Linked DNA regions of Homo sapiens: all the other regions are linked to region 1. Evidence: promoter capture Hi-C in 16 types of primary human blood cells and fetal thymus (Javierre and others, 2016). All regions are on one chromosome and are shown on one strand. Each heading gives the region's core, a stretch centred on a gene start or on the middle of the fragment in contact. The rest is flanking DNA. Distances are from core to core; before and after follow the strand shown.

Region 1 (2,889 bases), core at 159-2,658:
TGGCGTGTATGAGATGTCCTCCTAGGTTATAATGTGTACCTGTCACCAGAGCATGCTAAAATTTCACCCTAGCTATGTATTTAGTAGCCACAGTGAGTGGTTTTAATGGGTTAACATGAGCAGCCCTTTCAAGGCGCCTTTCCCAGATGAGTTACTCACAAAATTTCAAGCACAAAAAGACTAGTTTCCTCAGCTATAGGAGAGCAAACTAGTTCTCCTGCAAAGGAGTCTCAGAATAACTTGGGGGTTCACGATTGACAGTTTCACCTGGATTCAATTATATGTCTTAATTCTAAGTATCAGTATTCCACTTCTCCCTATTCAGTGCCACCTCCCATGAGAAACTTTGCAACACTGAATTTAACAGATCTCAGAATTAGCAACCTACACAAGTAAATTGAGATTTTGAGCAAAATCTCAGTAAAATGTCAGAGTCTTCTTGATCCCACAGTGAAAGAGGAATAAATAACAAGTTCTAAAGAAAAGAGGGGCTAGTCACTATTGTTAACATTTATTACTTACCATGTGTCATGGGCTTTGCTAAGTAATTTAAAGGCATCTTTTGGTGTCATGCACTCACTTAATTCCTTTCACTGCACTCAGAATAAACCCCAAATCTCTGTTATGGCCTTCTGGGTCCTAAATGGTCTGCACTCCTGCTGACCTCTCAGTTTGATGAGGAAGTTTCAGCCACACATATCTTCTTTCCACTCTTCTCAGCTTACATGTCACCTCCTCCAAACTGCTTTTCTAAAGTAGCTCACTCCCCACCTCATTACTTTCCACATCAAGACCGTGCTTCTTTATATTATCACCATATTATTTTACTTATTTTATGCTTTTTCATTGCATGTTTAGTATTTTTATTTATGTTTATTTACTGCGTGCTTATTATTTTTACTCCATGAGACTGTAATCTCAACTCAGGCATAGACCATCTATGGTTTGTTCACATTGCACTGCACCAGAAAGGATCTTAAGAAGCATGTGTAGAATTCTCACACCTCTAGAAGTTGGACTACATTATTTCCTACTGCTTTTTAAATAGGCAAACGAAAGCTTGGAGAGCCACGTTAACGTATCCTAGGTCTGTCACAACCAACTGGTGGCCAGGGTCTGTGGATCTTCAAGCTGGAGTTGGTCACCTCCTAGCACAACTCCATAGGAGGAAGTGAAGCTCAATACAATTCCCTCCTGTCCTCCAACGATAGGGGCAGCAGGGTCTGTACCCAGAGGAAACAAAGAGCATCATCATTATCATCACAAACTGGTGTGTGCTTACCGTATTGATGATGTGCCCAGTCCCCACCTTGCCTGAGACCAGAACTCCCAGCCAGCACCGGCCACGCACCCGCGGAGCTGCCAGGTAGCACCCGCCCCCTCTCTCTGCGCAGGCGCGCGCCTCCTGCTTCCGCTCGGGGCGGGGCTGGGCTCCCGGGGTAGGTCCGCGGCTGCTGCTGCGTCCGACCCCCGGCCGGCGCGGGTATGGAGCTTGGGGGTCACTGGGACATGAACTCGGCCCCGAGGCTGGTCTCGGAGACCGCAGAGCGGAAACAGGAGCAGAAGACAGGAACCGAGGCGGAGGCTGCCGACTCCGGTGCCGTCGGAGCCCGCCGCTTCCTGCTCTGTCTCTACTTGGTGGGCTTCTTGGTGAGTGCGAGCGTGGGGGCTGGGAGCAAGTGCTGACTGTGTTCGGGCCTGGGGACCCAGGCGGTTCTTGGAGCTTCCGGGGAGCTCCCAGGGAGTGGGAACCCGCAGTCCGCCTGGTGAGTGCCTCACTACCTATCAAGCTCTCCTCTTGCCCTATCACCCACTTCAGTCTGCATCTGGCCACACTGCTTTATTGCCCCTCGCGCTTTCTCTTGCACCCCGTTCGCGGAACGTCTTCCCTTCCCTGCCTTTTGAGAAGCCCTGGTACCAACCTCAGGTGTGACCAGGTGTTAAATGCTGTGGCAGGTGCAGCTTTTGCAGGGCGGAGAACAGGGGTGTGGGCAAGCTTGGAAAAGCCCAGCTGCTGTGCGGCTGCTGGTGAGGTAGGGACACGCAAGCCTTTTTACCAGAACAGGCAGGGGAGGCCGCTCTTGACCCCGCTTGGACAGATTTAGGCACATTTTCACTAGGATTCTTGGTTGACTTAAATATTAAAAAATGCAGATCAGAGTGAATTTTACCCATCTGCCTTTCGACAAACTGCGCATTGCACAGCGTAGGTTTGGTTTCATCATGATGTGTGTGCCTGTGGTTTGCTTTTTTACCAGACCAGGCTGGAGAAGCCGCTGTTGATGACCCCACTTGTACAGAATTGGGTGCATTTTCACTAGAGCTCTCGGTTGACTTGAATGTTTAAAAATGCAGATCAGAGTGAATTGTACCCATCTACCTTTGGACAAAGGGTGTGCATTGCACAATGGCGGTTTGGTTTCATCGTGTGTGTGTGTGTGTGTGTGTGCGCGCGCGCGTGTCCTGGTTTGCTCCCTGAGTGCTAATTTCCCACGTAGAATGGAAAGTTTAGTAAGCTGATTCATGGCATTTCTGAACACCTGCCATGTGGCAGGTGCTGCGGAGCTTCACTATTGTAATCCACAGTTCTGCCACAGAAGAATTCAGTCTTACAAGTAAGCTGATGTTGGTAGTTTCTGGGCCATTATCTGCAAGAACCCTAGATCCACCTCTGCACTCCTCCCTTTCCAAGGCTAGGCCTGATTCAGCCCTGAGTGTGAGCTAATCCAGTATCTTGAGGGTAAGGAAGCTGCGATAAGTGTCAATGGGAGAAGGCTGCCTTTGAGGCCTTGAAGATAGTATCTGATGGCACTGGGCCCTGGCAGGGAGTCATCGTTTTCTGCCCAGATGCAGATCAAGACCACCACTTCTCCCAGTTTCATGCACTCT
Region 2 (2,889 bases), core at 250-2,749, 2.2 Mb before region 1:
GTTGGTTATTTGAGTTCTTGACCCTACCTGCATTCCTTCTGCCATTAAACATTGGTTTGATATCTTGCTCTCCTGGAACCTGACTCCAGCACTCCCATTTCTGCGTGCTAACTGGCTTGATTCCATCTTAAATAGAAAGACAGCACCTTTCTGTCTGCAGACTTTATGCTTTGGGAGTCTTGATTCATCCTAGGATTCACCCATTCCTACACTCGTTACCTTCTCTAAGTCACCCCAGTGCCAGGGTTTTGGAAAGTAAGGCCATTTCCTTAAGTGTCCCAGGATCACCATATTGGTTTAAAGTAAAATCCACACCAATGATAGAGCCACTTCCTCATCCTAGCTGGGTTTCCCCGACCCTGTCTATGTAACCCTGTTAGCCCTGTTTGCCTCTGTCTCCCTGCATCACACATAAGGCTTTTCTTCTCTCTTGATGTATCTTGGGTGCTGTGCCTTGCATAGTCTTTGGTTTGATTTTTTTTCTAGAGACTCCAAGTGTCTATTTTAATGTTTCACCTGTTTCTCAACCCTGCAGGTTGACATTCTCTGGAGCCGAGATCTGGTTCCCGCTCCCACCTTTCTTTTCCATTTTCTACATTTACATCTACTGCCCTTTTCTGATTTATCTCTTTCTCTTGATTTGAGCTGTGTCTCTACTATTCCCCTCCCCAGACAAGGAGATGAATTTTAATATTTTCTGCTAGGTAGTAATTTCTAGCACTCCCCATATCCAGCCTGGCTCTTAACAGTGAGACCTCTCAGTAGCATTTTAGAGGTTTAAGAATTATCTTAAAGACTTTCTGATTCATTCTCTTACATTTTTCAAAATATGCAATTTTCTATTCAAATCTAAGATGAGGAGCTGTTTCGTCAAATACGTAAGATTGCATGCGTACAGGATATTGCTGGGATTTAAATGTAGTTTTTAGGATGCATCACATTATTTTGTGTGTCAAAAAATATTCCTCAAATAAGAAAGACACTGTACATTTTAAAAATGCTTTTGACAGTGTCTTACAATCCATGTATGGGGACTTACAATTTTGGGAAGTCATGTAAACTTTCCTGAGTTGCGAGTGAATTCAGTGCTTCCTCCACTCATAAATGTTATTACCCTACAAAGAAATTTCTAGATTATCCCACATAAAAGAGAAAACCAAACTCAGGAAAGACCATAAGATTATGAACTGGTACCTTTTCCCAGCACAGAAATCAGAACTGATAGCTTTAAATTAGAAGTGATATATAGCTCGTTCTTAGAGAGCTCTCTGTGCAAAATTTCATCATTTTGTGCAATGCTTTATACAGAGTACACACACAAGAAGGATTGACTGACAGTAAATGTTTACCAGTTCAAATTTTACTGAACACCTCTAATATCAGTATCTATCCTGGTAGTTTTTAAAATAATGCTATATTCATCACCATTACCACCATTATCATTCTTGATTTTTTGTACTGATTAGAATGTTTTCCATTGCAACAGAAACCCCAACTCAAACTAGCTAGCAGCAATGAATATTTTCTCTCTCATAACAGGAGATTCCTTAAAATGAGGGGCTTTAGAGTTAGTTGATTCATCAGATTACTAGTGTCGTTGAGTATCTCCTTGGTGTAGTAGCAAGGTTGGTAGTAACATTTCCAGATATGGCATTATTCAGAGAAAACAAAAGTTATTTGTCTCTTTCTATGGCTTTGTTTAGCAAGAAAAGACCTTTTCCCAGGAGCTTCTCAGGAGCATCCCCTCATGACTCAGCCATGAGGGTAGGGTCACAAGCCCATTCTCAGATCAGTTACTAGCATGATTGATTTCTGTGCACCCTCTGAAGCGGCATGCATCTTGGGGGATCAACTATGGTGTCTACCATACATTTATATAGTGACTTCAGCTTACCAAATGCTTTATGCATCCATCCAAGGTATAAGGTAAGGTAAGGCAGGTGTTATCATCCCCATTTTATATGAGATGATGGACGCTTATAGAATATTACCTTGTTCTTATGAAATGTGCTTCTGCAAGGAATGGTAGAGTAGCATGTTGCCATTTAAAAATCCCAAATAAAACAATCAATGGAGCCAGTGATTATTAATGTCTGCTAAACTATCAGATGAGTAGCCGATGGGAAACATTATAATGAACAGATCTGTCTGACAATGCCTAGACCTATTAATCAAACTTAACATCACAAAAAAGAGGGGTAGTCAGATAGTTCAATCTCCTGATGTGACATAATAGGTAGTACATAAACCTGAATCTCATCAAGCCTCTAAATCTAACAGTTTATAGAAAATACAGGGGACAGAGGAACACATTAAAAGACATCATAGGAGTGCAATAAAAATCCAGAATGTGAGAAATTTTACATAATAATCTATTTGATTTCTTCAGTAGATACATTATAAGAAAAAAAGAGAGGCAGGAGGAACCAAAAGATCAAGAGTCTTAAAGGACATATCATCTAGGTGCAATTAAGACCTTGTTTAGAGTGTGATTTGAATAAACTAAGTTTTAATAAACAATCGTGGAAAAAGTGGAAAATTTTCATGGTAGTTGGAAATTTGATAGTTATATTAAGGACTTTTTGTTAATTCTGTTGCATATACCAATAATAATTTTCTTTTAGGGATATATTCTGAAATGTTTATGGATGAAATTATACAATGTCTGGGATTTGCTTTCAAATAATTCAGGTCAAAAGAGTGGCATGAATAATATGGCAGAATGTGAAGTCCCAGGCCCTCCTTCCTCTACAGAGACACTGACACAACAACACACACACCAGCTGCCTTTGTGAAAAATCCAGAAACAAGTTAAGAGGCTCCTGAACTCCAGGAAAACATGAAGCCAACTGAATCAAAGCCAGGCAGGAAAATCTGTGGCACTCACTC
Region 3 (2,889 bases), core at 277-2,776, 2.1 Mb before region 1:
CTTTATCAAGCAGAAAGATGAAATAGCTCTTTGGCTGAAGATTTTCTGAATAGAAGATTCCTGAGAAAAGTGGAGAAGATAGAAATTGTGTATATGTATGTGCATATTGGTGTTTATGAGTATTTTTAAAAATGAAATATAAGTGGAAAGAGGAAAAGGAGGAAGAAGTTTTGGTAAATCTATAAAATCGCCACAATTTATGAGTTTAAAAGGCAATTTCTTTTTAAGGGGCAAATTCCTAATTTCCCACATAAAAGTATGGGAATTGAATGGTAAATCCTTCTCTGCTGACAAGACCCCTGAAAAGAGGCATGAAAAAGAGTTACTGTTCCGTTTCCATTCATGTCTCTTGAAAGCCGGTGGATGTGACACTGCGCTGGAACACACAACCCTGGGTTTCAAAGCTGCCCGGATGACTTTTCAGAAATGATCTATTGTGGCGCTTTGTTTTGTCCGGGTCGCCCTCGTTTTGTTCTGCTCGGCTGTATCACTCTTCTGTTGCTGCCATTAATCCACTCTGTCTACTCCTCCCCATTCAGAGGCACATTTTACCCCTCGCCCTGCACAGAGAGCCCAGGGATGAAATGGCTGAACGACTCAGCATCACTGCCGAGAGAGGGACGGAGGGAGAGAGATGGAGAGGAAAGGGGGTGAGAGGGGGTGTGCTGGTTCCACAGGCTCACCTGGGTGGTGAGGGTGCTCAGGAAGAAAAGGAGAGTAGGAAGAGGGAGGGGGACAGGCATCTAAGATAGACTTTCTCCATCTGTTGGGAGCCTGGGCAAGTAGGAAAGAAGCCTTTTTCATACACTTTAGTTGTATGGCTGAGCTGCTTGGCAGGGCACTGGAAACGGCGAACTTGTGCAGCCTGCAAATGAGACCACTCTTATTTTTCAGTTTTGATTTGATTCACTCACTTGTAGTTAGGTAAATACGGGCTCTATGTGGCTCAAGGAATGTCAGGCTGGGGTAGGTGGCAAAAGATACAGTGATGATGAAAAAAAGAAAATTAAATTAGAAGTCTTTTGGTTAGTAACTCAAATTTAGTTCACTTTCTTCTGTCCTCTTGGAAATACCATTCTCTTCAGTTGTATTCTACATAGGGAAGTGTTTTTTTTCCCACCTACCTTCTGTCCTACCCATTGCCTACTTTTAATGGTGCAAAGGGATGGTCTAGAGGTCCCAAAGGATCCTGTGATGTGCCAGGTTGTAAAGTGGTAACAAACATTCCCCAAATATCAGTGGCTTCATATACCAAAGTCTGTCACTCTCACTCTATGTCCAGTAAGGGGCAGCAGGGGCCCTGCTCATCAGTGTCGTGCAGGAGCCCCTTGGAGCAAGGGAGGACCACTCTCTACATATGCATAGAGATCTCCAAGGACTGAAGAGGGGGCCTCTTGAGGCTCTCACACTGGTCATCAAATCGCTGGCTCTGGAGATACTTCCTCTTACAACTAATCCAATGACTACACCTGCACGCAGGCTCAGCCTCTGATGACCAGGAGAAAGAAGACAACCAGCCAGCCACCAGTCCGGATGCTGCACACCTTCTCAGGGATACCCAGGGAGTTAAATAAGAAACAGACGAGCAAAATATTTTCAAGACTTTAACTGAATAATAAAAATCAGTCGTACTTAGTTGGCTGGAGTTTTATTGCAATACAAATCTAAGATGAGCATTTCAGATAAAAGTTGGACCAAGGTTCAGGAATTAAACATTTTGAACACGACATGATCAGCCCCAGCCTCCACTCTCAAGTGAGCTGCATGGTTCAGGCAAATTACCTAAACTTTTGGGCATCCATTTAATCACCCAGATAGTGAATCTGTGGGCTTCAGAGTTACTGGGAGCACTTTTTAAAGCATCACTGTGGGACCTCATCTGCAGAACTGCTGATTCAGCAGGCCTGGGGTGGGGCCAGGGAATTTGCCTTTCTACCCACTGCCCAAGTACTGCCGAGGCTGCTGGTCCAGGGATCACACCTTGAAATGATTCCTGGATGAACTCTAGAGCTCGATCTAGCTAGAAAACCCAATCTTTCCTATAGGGGGATGAGGTAGAATTTGTTGATAAGTTAACAAATAGCTACAGTAAAGTTTTCATATAGCTATAGTAAAGTTCAAAAAGCTACAGTAAAGTTGAAACTCGACTGGAAAATAATTCACTGGAGTGTCACTAACCCTTAACATTTTTGTGAGAGCACATTCGCATGTTGGAGTGACACATATAGTTTAAAGACACGTCTCAATTACATGATGTGGTCTGGACAGCTGCCCTTGTGGGGACAGAGGCTGCCACTAAACTCTGAGCAATTACTTAAAATTAGACTTGTCAAATTTGTTTAGGGTGACCAGGCAAGTACATACATTGACCTAATGTCACTCTTCCTGGAGAGACGTTGTAATGATTTTGTATATCAGTCAAACTATTTAAAACTAATGCCGCCTTCATGCCATAATCACCATTCTAGTCAGATGTCATTTTTAGAAGCCCTTGGGGATTTGCCTCTCTTAATTATTCTTCAATACCCAAACCAAGCATTCTTTAATTGGTGTAAATTGAACAGTGTTCCAGTGCAAACAAGGAGAGGGCACATTGATCAATGATTCTGTGCATGTCTATTGGAAAGTCGTTGCCATTAGATCAAGTAACAAATCCTTAACCCCTTTGGCTTCAGTGGAAACATCAGGTTGTGGGGCTGAGAAATGCTACTTCTCCTTAAGTCATCATCATTGGGAAACAGTGGGTTGTGATTGCAAAATCTCAGCTTTTGAGGAAAAGGTTAAAATATCCATCATAAAAATACCCTCCGTTCCAATGTCAAAAACCTCATTCAGAAGCCTTTTATGAGAGTTCAAGTAGAAACAAAGTGTTTCTATCCTCTGGCAATT
Region 4 (2,889 bases), core at 156-2,655, 2.0 Mb before region 1:
CACTGCAAGGATGATGTTCTTTGTCACAAGCTCATTGTGTACTTATTTTATGCAGCCAGGCAATAAGCATATCAAATTCACCTTCAAACTTTTGGCTTTGTGGCTTGAAAAAACCCAAACAAGAATTTTTCTGGAACAACTCTTTCAAGAATCCTAGTTTGGTTGGTCTGACTCCCAAGGGCTATTTGTGATTAGATGATTCCTCCTAAGGGTGATAGGTTCTGTTGAATTTCACATTAGGTCCAAGTTCCTCATGGCCCTAGTGTATACTGTAGTATAGCCACGGGGATCACAGCCAAGGACTAGATGGTGAAAGGGCAAACTAAAATATACAGGTGTGTTCCAAAAAAGGAAGAAAAAGTGCCCATATAAAAATAATTATGCTATATATTTTATATAATATAATGACATTTATACTATAAGCTAAATTTTCAAAGTTACACCAACAACAAATAACACAAGTATACAGAATCCCATCGTTCCTGAAAATCTTGGGGCTGTGTAATTTAGAAACAGAAATGAGCGTGTCTGGGCCTATACAAAGAACCCCAGAAGCACTCTTCATGTTCTTGCCCAATGTTGTTCAAACAGCACTATTTCAGGATACCCGTTGACTTGGGAAGTGAGGGTGATCAGCTCCCTGCTGCCTCAGGCACTCTCCCTCCACATAGTCCCCGGGCATCCCCAGCTTGGAGCACAATATCAACCTGAGGGGAAGAAAGCTGGGTCGCTCATGGGTCCGTGAACCCAACTGAGAACTGGTTAACTGGTTAGCAGGCAGGGCTGTTGAGTGACGTGCAGGCCGCTCCCTCTCTCTTCCCAAGCAGCTGGGCTTCCGGAATGCAGATGCCCGGCTGCCTTCCTGCCAGACAGTGGAGAGTTGGGTTAGAAGGGGGAACATCTGGGGAGATTTCCGGTAGCAATCTCCGGAGGCTGAGCTAGATAATCAGGCTTCATAAATTGGGTTGACTAGACAGTAAAATATTTATTATGATTCCTCTTTTTTTTTTTTTTTGAAGTTCAAAAATCCTTGTCATCCCCGGCTGAAGCCTGTGTCCACATGAGAGGAATTCATAATGAAATCAGAAGTAGCCTGCCACCACTTACTCACGACCTCCACCTGCAGCAGGGAGGCAGTGATTGGATCTGCATATGTGCTCCATTTAATTGTTTTTTCCTAATAAAACAGAAAAATCCATGAAACAACAACAATGAGCAATCCAAAAAAAAAAAAAAAAAAAAGAACAGCCCATGTGATGGTCTTTTATTCATTCTTGATGTATCAAATATTTTCTTACATGGGTGAAAAACAGAGGCAAATAATTTGGATGTTGTTTAAAAATAGACTTTCATATAAATAATGTTGAGTCTTAAAGATACCTATTATTATTATTTTAACCTTGAATCTCTACTAAAAACAAATGGTGAGTTGTGGAATTATTCAGATAATTGAGACCAAAATGCTGGTTTCTCTTTAAATATTTAGATAATGGAACAAAAACAGCTACAGCTGATGTGTATGATTAGTGACCATGATTAGTGACCAAGTGCTTTCTTTGGGAAAGTGGATGATGTCTTGGCTGTACCCTCAAACTAAGTCCTATGTCAGTGGAGAGCATTAGAGGTTTATTATAAAAGAGGGATTCAGATTTCTGTCAAAGGTGGACAGTTTTTTTTTTTTTTTTTTTTTGAGACAGAGTCTTGCTCTGTCACTCAGGCTGGAATGCAATGGCATAATCACAACTCACTGCAGTGTCCACTTTCTGGGCTCAATTGATCCTCCGGCCTCAGCCTCCTGAATAGCTGGGACTACAGGTGTGTGCCCTGTGCCACCATGACTGGTTAATTTTCTTGCTTTTTTTTTTTTTTTTTTTTTTTTTTTGTAGAGGTGGGAATGGTCTCACTATGTTGTTCAGGCTGGTCTCGAACTCCTGGGCTCGAGTGATCCTCCCGCCTTGGCCTCCGAAAGTGTTGGGATTACAGACATGAGTCACTGTGCCCAGACTCTTTTTTCTTAAATGCTCGCACTAGTTAATAATTTGGCATTTAAATGTTTCAGTCAATTGGTAATCAACACCGATTACAGAGAACAGCTTCTCCACCTGGGTATAAGATGACTGCTGCTTCAGGCCTCACTGCCCATCTAGCCCCAGATCCTGCCATTCCCCACAGCATCCTATGCTCCAGTGAAACTTCCTCAGCATTCCCAATCTCATCCAGATGGCCCACTCCTCCATGATTCTTCACACCTGCTGTGTGCTTCCAGACTTTGTTCTTTGGGAAACCTCCTGCACATCCCCTCATGGGGCTCCCTGCTCCCAGCCTCATCAACTCCTCGATACCTTTCCCATCAACCCGCCTTCCACCACAGTCTATGCTGAGAAAGGTATCTGCCTTTTGAGCTTCCATTTTATCCTATTTACATATCTAAAATATCACTTTTTTTTTTTTCCAACAGCCACAGATATTTACTGAGTGCCTCTTCTTTGGTAGGTCCTGCTCACACAGACACAGTTCCTGCCCTCCTGAGGCTGACATTCCAGGTGAGGAGAAAGATGATAGACGTGCATGGGAAATGATGCCAGGAAGTGCCATGACAAAGATACAACAGAGGTTTTTCTTGTTTGACTTTCGCCGTAGACTATGAACTCTTTGAAAGCAGAGACGGTAAATCTAGCATAGAGTGGAGTGTTAGCATATACTACATGTCAGTCAATGTTGAATGAATGAGCAAATGAAAGGCATATTTAGTGGACTTCTCATGATGTTTCCAATCCTTCCAATAATGGAAGAAATAAAAGAAATAAATAATAATTTTACTTATTATGGTTGGAAAGTTTTCTCAAAGAATATCTATGAGACATTTTCAAAGATAAAGAATTTTCCCTT

The links. Contacts are between HindIII fragments. The CHiCAGO score rates a contact against its expected background, and 5 or more counts as called.
Region 2: a fragment that was not itself captured here is called in contact with the fragment with the promoter of SLC67A2 in region 1 in 1 of 17 cell types (total B cells); the score reaches 7.2 in total B cells.
Region 3: a fragment that was not itself captured here is called in contact with the fragment with the promoter of SLC67A2 in region 1 in 2 of 17 cell types (M2 macrophages and M0 macrophages); the score reaches 6.1 in M2 macrophages.
Region 4: a contact is called between a fragment that was not itself captured here and the fragment with the promoter of SLC67A2 in region 1, in 2 of 17 cell types (M2 macrophages and M0 macrophages). The highest score is 8.0, in M2 macrophages.

The regions. Positions count from the first base shown.
Region 1 is chr2:102,735,407-102,738,295 of GRCh38, reverse strand. It overlaps SLC67A2 (solute carrier family 67 member 2), which reads left to right and starts at 1,408. Exons shown (of 6, transcript NM_032718.5): 1 at 1,408-1,650. The coding sequence starts at 1,486. It also overlaps a transcript of TMEM182 not described here. RefSeq lists a silencer at 1,292-1,501. The HindIII fragment of the contact is 937 bases long and covers 1,062-1,998 here.
Region 2 is chr2:104,966,357-104,969,245 of GRCh38, reverse strand. The region is part of intron 1 of MRPS9-AS2 (MRPS9 antisense RNA 2); the gene reads left to right. Among named protein-coding and RNA genes, the nearest start is that of DALIR, 60 kb to the right of the region's middle. The HindIII fragment of the contact is 6,733 bases long and covers 1-2,889 here.
Region 3 is chr2:104,786,862-104,789,750 of GRCh38, reverse strand. No RefSeq gene overlaps it. Among named protein-coding and RNA genes, the nearest start is that of LINC01114, 31 kb to the right of the region's middle. The HindIII fragment of the contact is 4,017 bases long and covers 1-2,889 here.
Region 4 is chr2:104,764,867-104,767,755 of GRCh38, reverse strand. No RefSeq gene overlaps it. Among named protein-coding and RNA genes, the nearest start is that of LINC01114, 8.6 kb to the right of the region's middle. The HindIII fragment of the contact is 3,791 bases long and covers 1-2,889 here.